2 separate regions of the Homo sapiens genome follow, and region 2 is linked to region 1. Evidence: promoter capture Hi-C in human tissues and cell types (Jung and others, 2019). All regions are on one chromosome and are shown on one strand. Each heading gives the region's core, a stretch centred on a gene start or on the middle of the fragment in contact. The rest is flanking DNA. Distances are from core to core; before and after follow the strand shown. Region 1 holds the start of GSX1 (GS homeobox 1). Region 2 overlaps CDK8 (cyclin dependent kinase 8).

Region 1 (5,192 bases), core at 1,875-4,374:
ACGCACTTCCTTCTCCTCATCCATCTTAGAGAGTAAAAAAACCCGCATATGTCCTCAAAGGGAGCTGGGGTGTGGATTCTAAGTCGTAGGGGGATATAGGATTTTAACGAGAATTGGTGAGAACATGAGGTCCCAGAGCCACTGGCTCCAGCTATGCAGAGTCCCTCTCGGGGACTCCCTGGGGCAGGATCACTTCGGATTCTCGGATTCCTTGCCCGGAATGTTCCGCGACCAGGGACTCGGCTAAGGGAATTTGCCTTAAAACAAAGAGAGGAGGGCCCTCTGAGAGAAGTCTGCACCATCCCGCAGAATGGAAATTTGTCCCTAACGAATCGTTATCAATCCAAGCGCAGTGAAGGACGGATTTCTTGTGCTTATGGAGGGAGTGGTTTCTGCCCTCCCGGCTGTTGGCCAGGACAGCGAAATGGTGAGGGATGGAGGTGGGGCTGGATCCCAGGTGAGAAGGAGGCGCTGCAGGGGTTGGGACCCATGGTGCAGTCCAAGGAGAGCGCTCTCCTTCCCTTCCGGCTTAGCTCTCTGAGCTCCGCGACGCTTGTGCGCCACGCCGGAGCGGGACAATCGTTAGCGCGCACCTGGCTGGCATGCAAGGCGGGCTCTCAGCGGAGCTGAGGGTTCCGAGAGGCACTGGCTGAGCTGTAAGGCGAGGAGCCGGCTCGGACCCTGCAACTGGATCCCCAACCCTTCCCAGAAGGGAGGCCCAATCCGGGTTGGCGCCTGTCTACTCCAGAGCGAAGGCCTCTGGGCTCAGAGCCACGGGCATTTCTAAGAAAAAAAAAAGTTTATTTAAAATTTTGTACATAAATAAATAAATAAATATCTTCTGGCATTGCAGAGGCCGTACAATTACACAGCTAGGCTGGGGCGGGCCAGAGTCTGGAGGGGGAAGAGTGGGGTCGCCAGCGGCGCAGAGCGGGGTCCTATGTTTAGAGGAAGGAAGAGCGTGTTGGAAACAGAGCAAATCTGTTTCCCCAATATGGATACTACGGGCGAAATTTATCATCTGTGAGAGGAGCCGTGGGGACTGAGGACAGCAAGGCCAGATCAAGGGACAAATGGACTGACTGAAGGAGGAGGCTCCCTGAGGAGGGGAAGGGAAAAGGAGAAGGAAAAAAAAAGTGGGGGTTCATAAATGTGTGTGTTGGCGGGCGGGGGCCGAGTGAATAAATGATCACAGGAAAGAGGTGGGGAGGGACAAAAAGACATTTTAAAAAGAGAAGCGAACGAGCATCCAAGGCCGCCGACCTTGACCGAGAGCGGAGGAGAGTAGAGTAAGCGAGGAAGCCCAAGCCAGCCCAGAGAGGGCGGGCTAGGAGGCGCCGGCTGCCAGCAAGGCGCTGCGCCAAGCAGGCTTGCGGGCGGGGGCCGCGGTGCTGCACTGCCCAGGAGGACTCGAGCGCTTACAGTGTTCACAGCTTGGAGTTGGCTTTGGACACGAGCGAGCCCTGGGGCGGGGACGCCATGGTCCAGTCTCTGCCAAGCTCTCAGCCCTGCCCAGGCCCGGGACCTCTGCAAAGCAGTGCCAAATCCATGCCAGGCAGTGGTTTGGCTGCGGGTGCCTGGGAATCAGCGCTGAGTCCCAGGACTAGTCTCCGAGGCGCAGGGAGGTCTTGGGGTGGGCGACCTAGGGAGACACGCGCCTAGGGAGTGACCGTAAGATCCCGGTCGTCCTTCCCTGAGGAGGACGGAGACATGGGCAATTCGTCGTCATCCTCGGAGCACTTGGCTGAGGAGAGCGATGCGCACTTGCAGCCTTGCGGTGCGCTCCCGCCACCACCGGCACCCCCGCCGCCGCCGCCACGATGGTTGCTGCCCTTGCCCTCCTTCTTGTGCTTCACTCGGCGGTTCTGAAACCAGATCTTCACCTGCTTCTCGGACAGATTCAGGTAGGTCGCGATCTCGATGCGACGTAGGCGGGACAGGTACATATTAGAAGCGAACTCGCGCTCCAGCTCTAGCAGCTGCGTGCTGGTGAAAGCCGTGCGCATCCTCTTGCTGCTGGGCAGCTGGTTAGAGCTGCTGTCTGGAGGTGGCAGAGCAGAGAAGGAAGCGATCAGACCTCTGTGCTGTGGACCCAATCCCTTGGTAGGCGGTCGCCAGAATCCTACGACTTTGACCTCTTACCCATCTCTTCGCCCCAACACAATCCACAGCAGAGCTACAGTGAGCGCTCCTTGTCCAGCTCCGAGATCCTGATTCTCCCGGAGTCATGCAGCCCTGGAACCCCTTCCCCTTCATGGAGAGCCTTGGATCCCAGCCCTCACTTACCCCGGCCCACACTCCAGGACCTGGACGTCTGCCCTCATCCGCCTCCTGGCGTTGTGTCCCGGCCCTCTATCCTCACTCCACCCCAAGCGCCCCCCTTAGTCCCCGACATGACCCTCACCGCCCCCAGAAAGCCCAGGGTCCCTCTTCCTCCATCTCTGGCTCTCCATCCTGCTTCGGATCACCTCTGCCCGGTCCCTCTGCGCGGCGGCCCCGCTTACCCACAGAGATGCAGTGGAACTGCCTGGGGTCAGGCAGCGGGTAGGAGGTCTGGTAGAGCGCGGCGGCAGCAGCAGCGGCGGCCGGGCCGTGAGCGACCCCGGGCGACACAGCAGAGTGCTGGCGGCCCAGGGGCGCGTGGCAGTACTGCGAGCCGAAGGGTGGGAAGGAAGCCTTGAGTAGAGGCAGCGCGGGCGGCCCGGGGGGCCCATGCAGCTGCGAGGCGGTGACGCAGAGCGGGCACACGCACAGCAGCCCAGCCTTGCGCGCGTGGCAGGCGCCAGGCGAGAGACCGTGCAGCGCGTGCGGCGGGGGCACAGCGTAGGGGAAGAGCGGCGGCGGGCTGCCCTCGGGCGCCTTCTTCTCGCCCGCCTCGCGCAGCACTAGCGAGTCCACCAGGAAGGAGCGCGGCATGGCCCCGGCGCGCGGTCGCCCCGCAGCCAGCCCGCCCTCTGCGCCCACCGCACCTTTCGGCTCTCCACGCGCTTTCCCTGGCCGCGGTATCCCGCAGCTGCCTCTGCCCAGGAGGCTGAACGCGCGGCTGAGACCTAGGCTGAAACAGTAGCCTCTGCTGCCGTGGGCACCGCCCAAAGAGCGCGGGGTGCTGGCCAGCGCTAGTGGTGCTGAAAGGCGCCGGCGGCGCGGCTTAAATAGGACTATTGCCATGTGATGGACTACGCCAGGAGCGGCCGGGGCCTCTCAATAGGGTTTTTGTGCCTTTTCTCTTGGCATTCACTCTGCACGCTTCCTCATTATTTCACTTGTTAACTAAATGAACTGCATAATGTACTCTATTCTTGTCAACCCCACCCACGCCGTAACAGGCGCCCTCGCCCCCTCCTCTCCCTTTTGCGGGTTTATTTTCTCATTCTCCCGCGATTTAATATTCTTTCCTTTCTCTTTATTTCTTACTCCCCTTTGGCTTTGCATTGGCCATCAGCCCGTTCACCTTACTGATTTTGCACCCCCGCGGCCTCTCTTCTACAGATCCCCATGGGCGCACACCCTCATATCCTCTGTCCACTTGGTCCTGGTCCCCTTCTTTCTATTATCGCCCTTACACCCCAAAAGTATGCTGTCTCCAGTCAGCCCTGTCAGCTCAGTGCCGTGCACCCCCGAACCTCCCTCCAGCCGGTCTCAGATTTTCCACCTGTGGAATCGCTTCTCTCTCTGCGTCGGAAGAAGGAGGACCGGGTTCCCGCGTGAAGGAGGCGTCTGTGGGGAGGGAGGAGAAGGGCTCATTATTCCTTATCCAGCCCTAGACCCATCGCTGTCCCTCGGTTTTCTCTAAGTTTCTCAAATAGTCTTAATTTTGGTGCTGCCTACGACGCCCAGTCTTTGTTCGGTAGATGCTGGCCAACCAGCCCTTTCCTTCAAATGACAGGGCCGTGGATGTAAAAGAGGAAAAACAGTCTCTGAGCGTTACGAACAGAGACAGGGAATGGGGAATGAAAGCCGAGATGGCGCAGATCTAGATCTCGCACCCCAGCACATGTGGCGAGTGCGGACTGTCTGCCCGCGCATCTTGCCCACACCCTGTCTACTGGAGCACACTTCCAGCAGTGCGCTGGGAAACCGCTGCCATCTCTTAGTTTGGAACGGCGCGAAGGGCGGTTGTATTCCTGGCATCGGCTGCCTTTGCCCACCCTGACCCGCCTCCGCTCTCCCCAAGACCCGGCTTCTTCTTCCTGCCGCGTCACTCTTCTTTCTGGTCACACAATGGTTAAACAACTTCAAACGCTCAGAGCTGTGTACACAGCTCCAGCTTTTTAAATCGTTCTCGGGCTCAAAGCTGTTTCGCCCAGGAGCTTTTTCCATACAATGGGAAATCAGCATAAACATTTCTAATTTACAGCCCGGGACTTTTCACAGGAGACGTTTACTTTCGATTTTATTGGAACCAAATCGCTGCAGTCACCTGCTCTGAGCCCTGAATGGAATTGTGAGAAATGGAGGGGGAAGCTTAGGGGTCTGGGGAAGCAGTGCGCAGGAATAAGATTGCCCAAACCCGAAGCATCTGCATGGGCTTTTATCCTTGGCAACATCTTTGCAATAACAACAGCAACAGATTATAACTGATTAAAAAGCAAAGATAATTTGTTTTGCGAGATAATAACTGCTTCTGTAAAAGGGAATAGGACAATGGGAGAAGTAACCTGCATGGAGGGCATGGCATCTAGCAGGAGTAAGGGTTCAATGTTTTCTTGGTTGCTTGGCATGGAGTGGGGGGCAAGGCTGCCCTCTGAGACAGAGTCTCAGCGCCAAGGCTCCCCCACTCTAGGGTGGTGCCTGCAAACCAGCCGGAACGCATCAATGCAGCCTAATTCCCGTTCTAATTGCTCTCTGGGAAATTTGAGCTGGGCTGGGTCGCTGAGAGGAAGCGAAGAGCGAGACCCGGGCGGGGAGAGGGGCTTTCCGCTGGGCAGAGGCAGGCTGGAGGGGCGCAAGGGCGGGCGGGGCCCAGGGGTGCAAGGGGCGGGCACTGCACCCGGAGCTGGGAGCCCGCGAGTGGCCAGCGTGGAGCTCCACTGGCAGCCGCCCCGCGTGCCCGGGGAGGAAGGGGTTAAGAGCCCCTGAATGCGAGCAAGGCCAAAGCTACTGGGAAAGAATATGGGGGTGGGGGTGGGGGTGGGGGGAATAACCAGGTTTTTTTTTTTTTCCTCTCTCCAGCCTCTGGACCTTATTGAATG
Region 2 (4,692 bases), core at 1,448-3,947, 1.5 Mb after region 1:
CGGGCATGGTGGCACGTGCCTATAGTCCCAGCTACTCGGGAGGCTGAGGCAGGAGAACTGCTTGAGCCGGAGAGGGAGAGGTTGCAGTGAGCCGAGATCACACCCCTGCACTCCAGCCTGGGCGATAGAGTGAGACTCCATCTAAAAAAATAAAATAAAATAAGTTGCACTAAAATTAAGAACTTCTGCTCATTAAAAGACAACACTACAGGGGTAAAAACACAAGTCACAGGATAGTAGAAAATATCTGATACATACATGTGTGTAGATTTTCTCCTAGCACTTTATAGTCTTAAAATTGGGATTTCCTATTATTTTACATGTCATATGGTATTATTACTTTTGACTTCTTTCAATCATTTACTTTTTTTTAGAATTATTTGATCTATTTATTTATATTTTTACTTCAATAGCTTTGAGGGAACAGGCGGTGTGTGGTTGCATGGAAAAGTTCTTTAATGGCGATTTCTGAGATTTTGATGCACCCATCACCTGAGCAGTGTACACTGTACCCAATATGTAGTCTTTTATCCCTAGCCCCTCCCCACCTTTCTCCTCCAAGTCCCCAAAAATCCATTATATCACTCTTATGCCTTTGCATCCTCATAGCTTAGCTCCCGCTTATAAGTGAAAACATATGATGTTTGGTTTTCCATTCCTGAGTTACTGAACTTAGAAAAATGGTCTCCGACTCCATCCAGGTTGCTGCGAATGCCATTATTTCATTCCTTTTTATGGGTGAACAGTATTCCATGGTGTGTATGTGTGTTGGAGGTTGCAGTGAGCCGAGATCGCACCACTGCACTCCAGCCTGGGCGACAGAGCTGTATATATACATATAGACACTACATTTTCTTTATCCACTTGTTTGTTGATGGGCATTTAAGTGGGCTCCATTTTTTTGCAACTGTGAAGTGTGCTGCTATAAATGTGTGTGCAAGTGTCTTTTTCAAATAATGACTTCTTTTCCTCTGAGTAGATACCCAGTACTGGGATTGCTGGATCAAATGGTAGTTCTATTTTAGTTCTTTAAGGAATCTCCATACTGTTTTCCATAGTGGTTTACTTTCCCACCAGCAGTGTAAAAGTGTTCCCTTTTTACCACATCTACACCAACATCTGTTGTTTCTTGATTTTTTAAATTACGGCCATTCTTCCAGGAGTAAGGTGGTATCTCCTTATGGTTTTGATTTGCATTTCCCTGATAATTAGTGATATTGAGCATTTTTTCATATGTCTGTTGGCCATTTGTATATTTTCTTTTGAGAACTGTCTATTCATGTCCCTTGCCCACTTTTTGATGGGATTGTTTTTTATCTTGCTGATTTGAGTTCCTTGTAGATTCTGGGTATTAGTCCTTTGTCAGATGCACAGTTGAGAATATTGTTTTTCCCACTCTGTGGGTTGTCTGTTTACTCTGCTGATTATTTCTTTTACTGTGCAGAAGCTTTTTCGTTTAATAATCTACTTATCTTCGTTTTTGCTGCATTTGTTTTTGGATTCTTGGTCATGAAGTCCTTATCTGAGCCAATGCCCAGAAGGGTTTTTCCGATGTTATCTTCTAGAATTTTTATAATTTCAGATCTTAGATTTAAGTCTTTACTCCATCTTGAGTTGATTTTTGTATAAGGTGAGAGATGAGGATCCAGTTTCATTCTTCTACATGTGGCTTGCCAATTATCCCAGCACCATTTATTGAATGGGATGTCCTTTCCCCATTTAATGTTTTTGTTTGCTTTGTCAAAGATCAGTTGGCTGTAAGTATTTGGCTTTATTTCTGGGTTCTCTCATCTGTTCCATTGGTCTACATGCCTATTTTTATACCAGTACCATACTGTTTTGGTAACTATAGCCTTGTAGTATATAGCTTGAAGTCAGATAATGTGATGCCTCCAGATTTGTTCTTTTTGCTTAGTCTTGCTTTGGCTATGTGGGCTCTTTCTTGGTTCCATATGAACTTCAGGATTGTTTTTTCTAGTTCTGTGAGGAATGACGATGGTATTTTGATGGGAATTGCATTGAATCTGTAGATTGCTTTTGGCAGTATGGTCATTTTCACAATATTGATTCTACCCATCCAAGAGCTTGGCATGTGTTTCCATTTGTTTGAGTCATCTATGATTTCTTTCAGCAATGTTTTGCAGTTTTCCTTGCAGAGATGTTTCACCTCCTTGATTAGGTATATTCGTAAGTATTTTATTTATTTGTTTGTTTGTTTATTTATTTATTGCAGCTGTTGTAAAGGGGTTTTAGTCCTTGATTTGATTCTCGGCTTTGTTATTGTTGGTGTTTAGCAATGCTTCTGATTTGTGTACGCTGATTTTGTATCCTGAAACTTTACTAAATTCATTCATGAGATCAAGGAGCTTTCTGGGTCTTTAGGGTTTTCTAGGTATATGATCATATCATTGGTGAACAGTGACAGTTTGACTTTGTCTTTACCAATGTGGATCCGCTTTATTTCCTTCTCTTGTCTGACTGCTCTGGCTGGGACTTCTAGTACAATGTCGAATGGAAGTGGTGAAAGTGAGCATCCTTGTCTTGTTCCAGTTCTCAGGGGAAATGTTTTCAACTTTTCCTCATTCAGTATAATGTTGGCTGTGGGTTTGTCACAGACGGCTTTTATTACTTCGAGGTATCTCCCTTCTATACTGATTTTGCTAAGGGTTTTAATCATATTGTTAAATGCTTTTTCTGCAACTATTGATACGATCTTTGATTTTTGTTTTTAATTCTGTTTATGTGATGGATCACATTTATTGACTTCCATGTGTTAATTCATCACTACATCCCTGTTATGAAACCCACTTGATTATGGTGTATTATCTTTTTGATAAGCTATTGAATTTGGTTAGCTAGTTTTTGTTTTGTTTTGTTTTGTTTTGTTTTTTTGAGACGGAGTTTCGCTCTTGTTGCCCAGACTGGGGTGCAGTGGCATGATCTCAGCTCACTCGACCTCTCGGGTTCAAGCGATTCTCCTGCCTCAGCCTCCTGAGTAGCTGGAATTACAGGCGTGTGCCACCACGCCCGGCTAACTTTTGTATTTTTAGTAGAGACAGGGTTTCAACATGTTGGCCAGGTTGGTCTCAAACTCCTGATCTCAGGTGATCCACCCACATCAGCCTTTCAAATTGCTGGGATTACAGGCATGAGCCACTGTACCCAGACTTTTTTTTTTTTTTGAGGATTTTTGCATTTATGTTCATCAGGGATATTGGTATGTGGTTTTCTTTTCCTTCCTCCCTCCCCAATCTCCCTCCCCCACTTGCTGCCTCCTTCCTTCTTTCCTTCTTTTTGTTTTTGTTGTTGTTATTATAACCTTTCCTGATTTTGGTATTAGGGTGATACTGGCTTCAAAGACTTATTTGGGGAGGGTACCCTCCTTCTCTATCTTGTGGAATAGTTTTAGTAAAACTGATACCAATTCTTCTCTGAATGCCTGATAGAATCTAGCTGTGAATCCATCCAGTCCTGGAATTTTTTTTGTTGGCAGTTTTTTCATTACTGTTTCAATCTTGCTACTTGTTACTGGTCTGTTCAGAGTTTCTATTTCTTCCAATTTAATCTAGTAGGGTAGTATATTTCCAGGAATTTATCCATCTCTAGATTTTCTAGTTTGTGCTCACAGTAAACTTGAATAATCTTTTATATTTCTGTGGTATCAGTTGTAGTATTTCCCATTTCATTTCTAATTGAGCTTATTTACATCTCTCTTCTTGGTTAATCTTACTAATGGTCTTTCAATGTTGTTTATCTTTTCAAATAAACAGCTTTTTCTTGCATTTATCTTTTGTTTTTGTTTATCTGTTTCAATTTTGTTTAGTTCTGCTCTAATCTTTGTTATTTATTTTCTTCTGCTGCGTTTGGGTTTGGGTTTGGTTTGTTCTTCGTTTCTTTAGTTCCTTGAGGTGTAACCTTAGATTTTGTGCTCTTTCAGACTTTTTGATGCAGGCATTTAATGCTATGACCTTTCTTCTCAGCACCACATTTGCTATATTCCAGAAGTTTGGTAAGTTGTGTCACTATTACTGTTCAGTTGCAAGAATTTTTTAATTTCCACCTTGATTTCATTGTTAAGCCAAAGATCACTCAGAAGCAGATTATTTAATTTCCATGTATTTGTACAGTTTTGATGGTTCCTTTTGGAGTTGATTTCCAATTTTATTCCACTGTGGTCTGAGAAGGTACCTGATATAATTTTGATTTTGTTACTTTTTTTTTTTTTTTTGAGATGGAGTCTTGCTCTGTCGCCAGGCTGCAGTGCAGTGGCATGATCTCGGCTCACTGCAACCTCCACCTCCAGGGTTCAAGTGATTCCCCTGCCTCAGCCTCCCGAGTAGCTGGGACTATAGGCGCACGCCACCACGGCTGGCTAATTTTTTGTATTTTAGTAGAGAAGGGGTTTCACCAAATTGGCCAGGCTGGTCTCAAACTCCTGACCTTGTGATCCGCCCGCCTCAGCCTCCCAAAGTGCTGGGATTATAGGCATAAGCCACTGTGCCCAGTCTACTTTTTTTGAGACGGAGTCTCATTCTGTTGCCCAGGCTGGGGTGCAGTGGCACGATCTTGGCTCACTGCAACCCCTGCCTCCCAGGTTCAAGCAATTCTCCTCCCTCAGTCTCCAGAGTAGCTGGGACTACAGGCACGTGCCACCACGCCCAGCTAATTTTTTTATTTTTAGTAGAGACGGAG

The links. Contacts are between HindIII fragments. The study calls those that stand out against the background at their distance.
Region 2: a contact is called between a fragment that was not itself captured here and the fragment with the promoter of GSX1 in region 1, in 1 of the 25 tissues and cell types used here (dorsolateral prefrontal cortex).

Annotation. Positions count from the first base shown.
Region 1 is chr13:27,790,415-27,795,606 of GRCh38, reverse strand. It overlaps GSX1 (GS homeobox 1), which reads right to left and starts at 3,124. Exons shown (of 2, transcript NM_145657.3): 1 at 2,505-3,124; 2 at 839-2,041. The coding sequence starts at 2,916. The coding sequence ends at 1,659. RefSeq lists enhancers at 1-785, 2,394-3,197. The HindIII fragment of the contact is 15,189 bases long and covers 1-5,192 here.
Region 2 is chr13:26,283,433-26,288,124 of GRCh38, reverse strand. All of the region lies in intron 1 of CDK8 (cyclin dependent kinase 8), which reads right to left. Among named protein-coding and RNA genes, the nearest start is that of CDK8, 32 kb to the right of the region's middle. The HindIII fragment of the contact is 4,573 bases long and covers 411-4,692 here.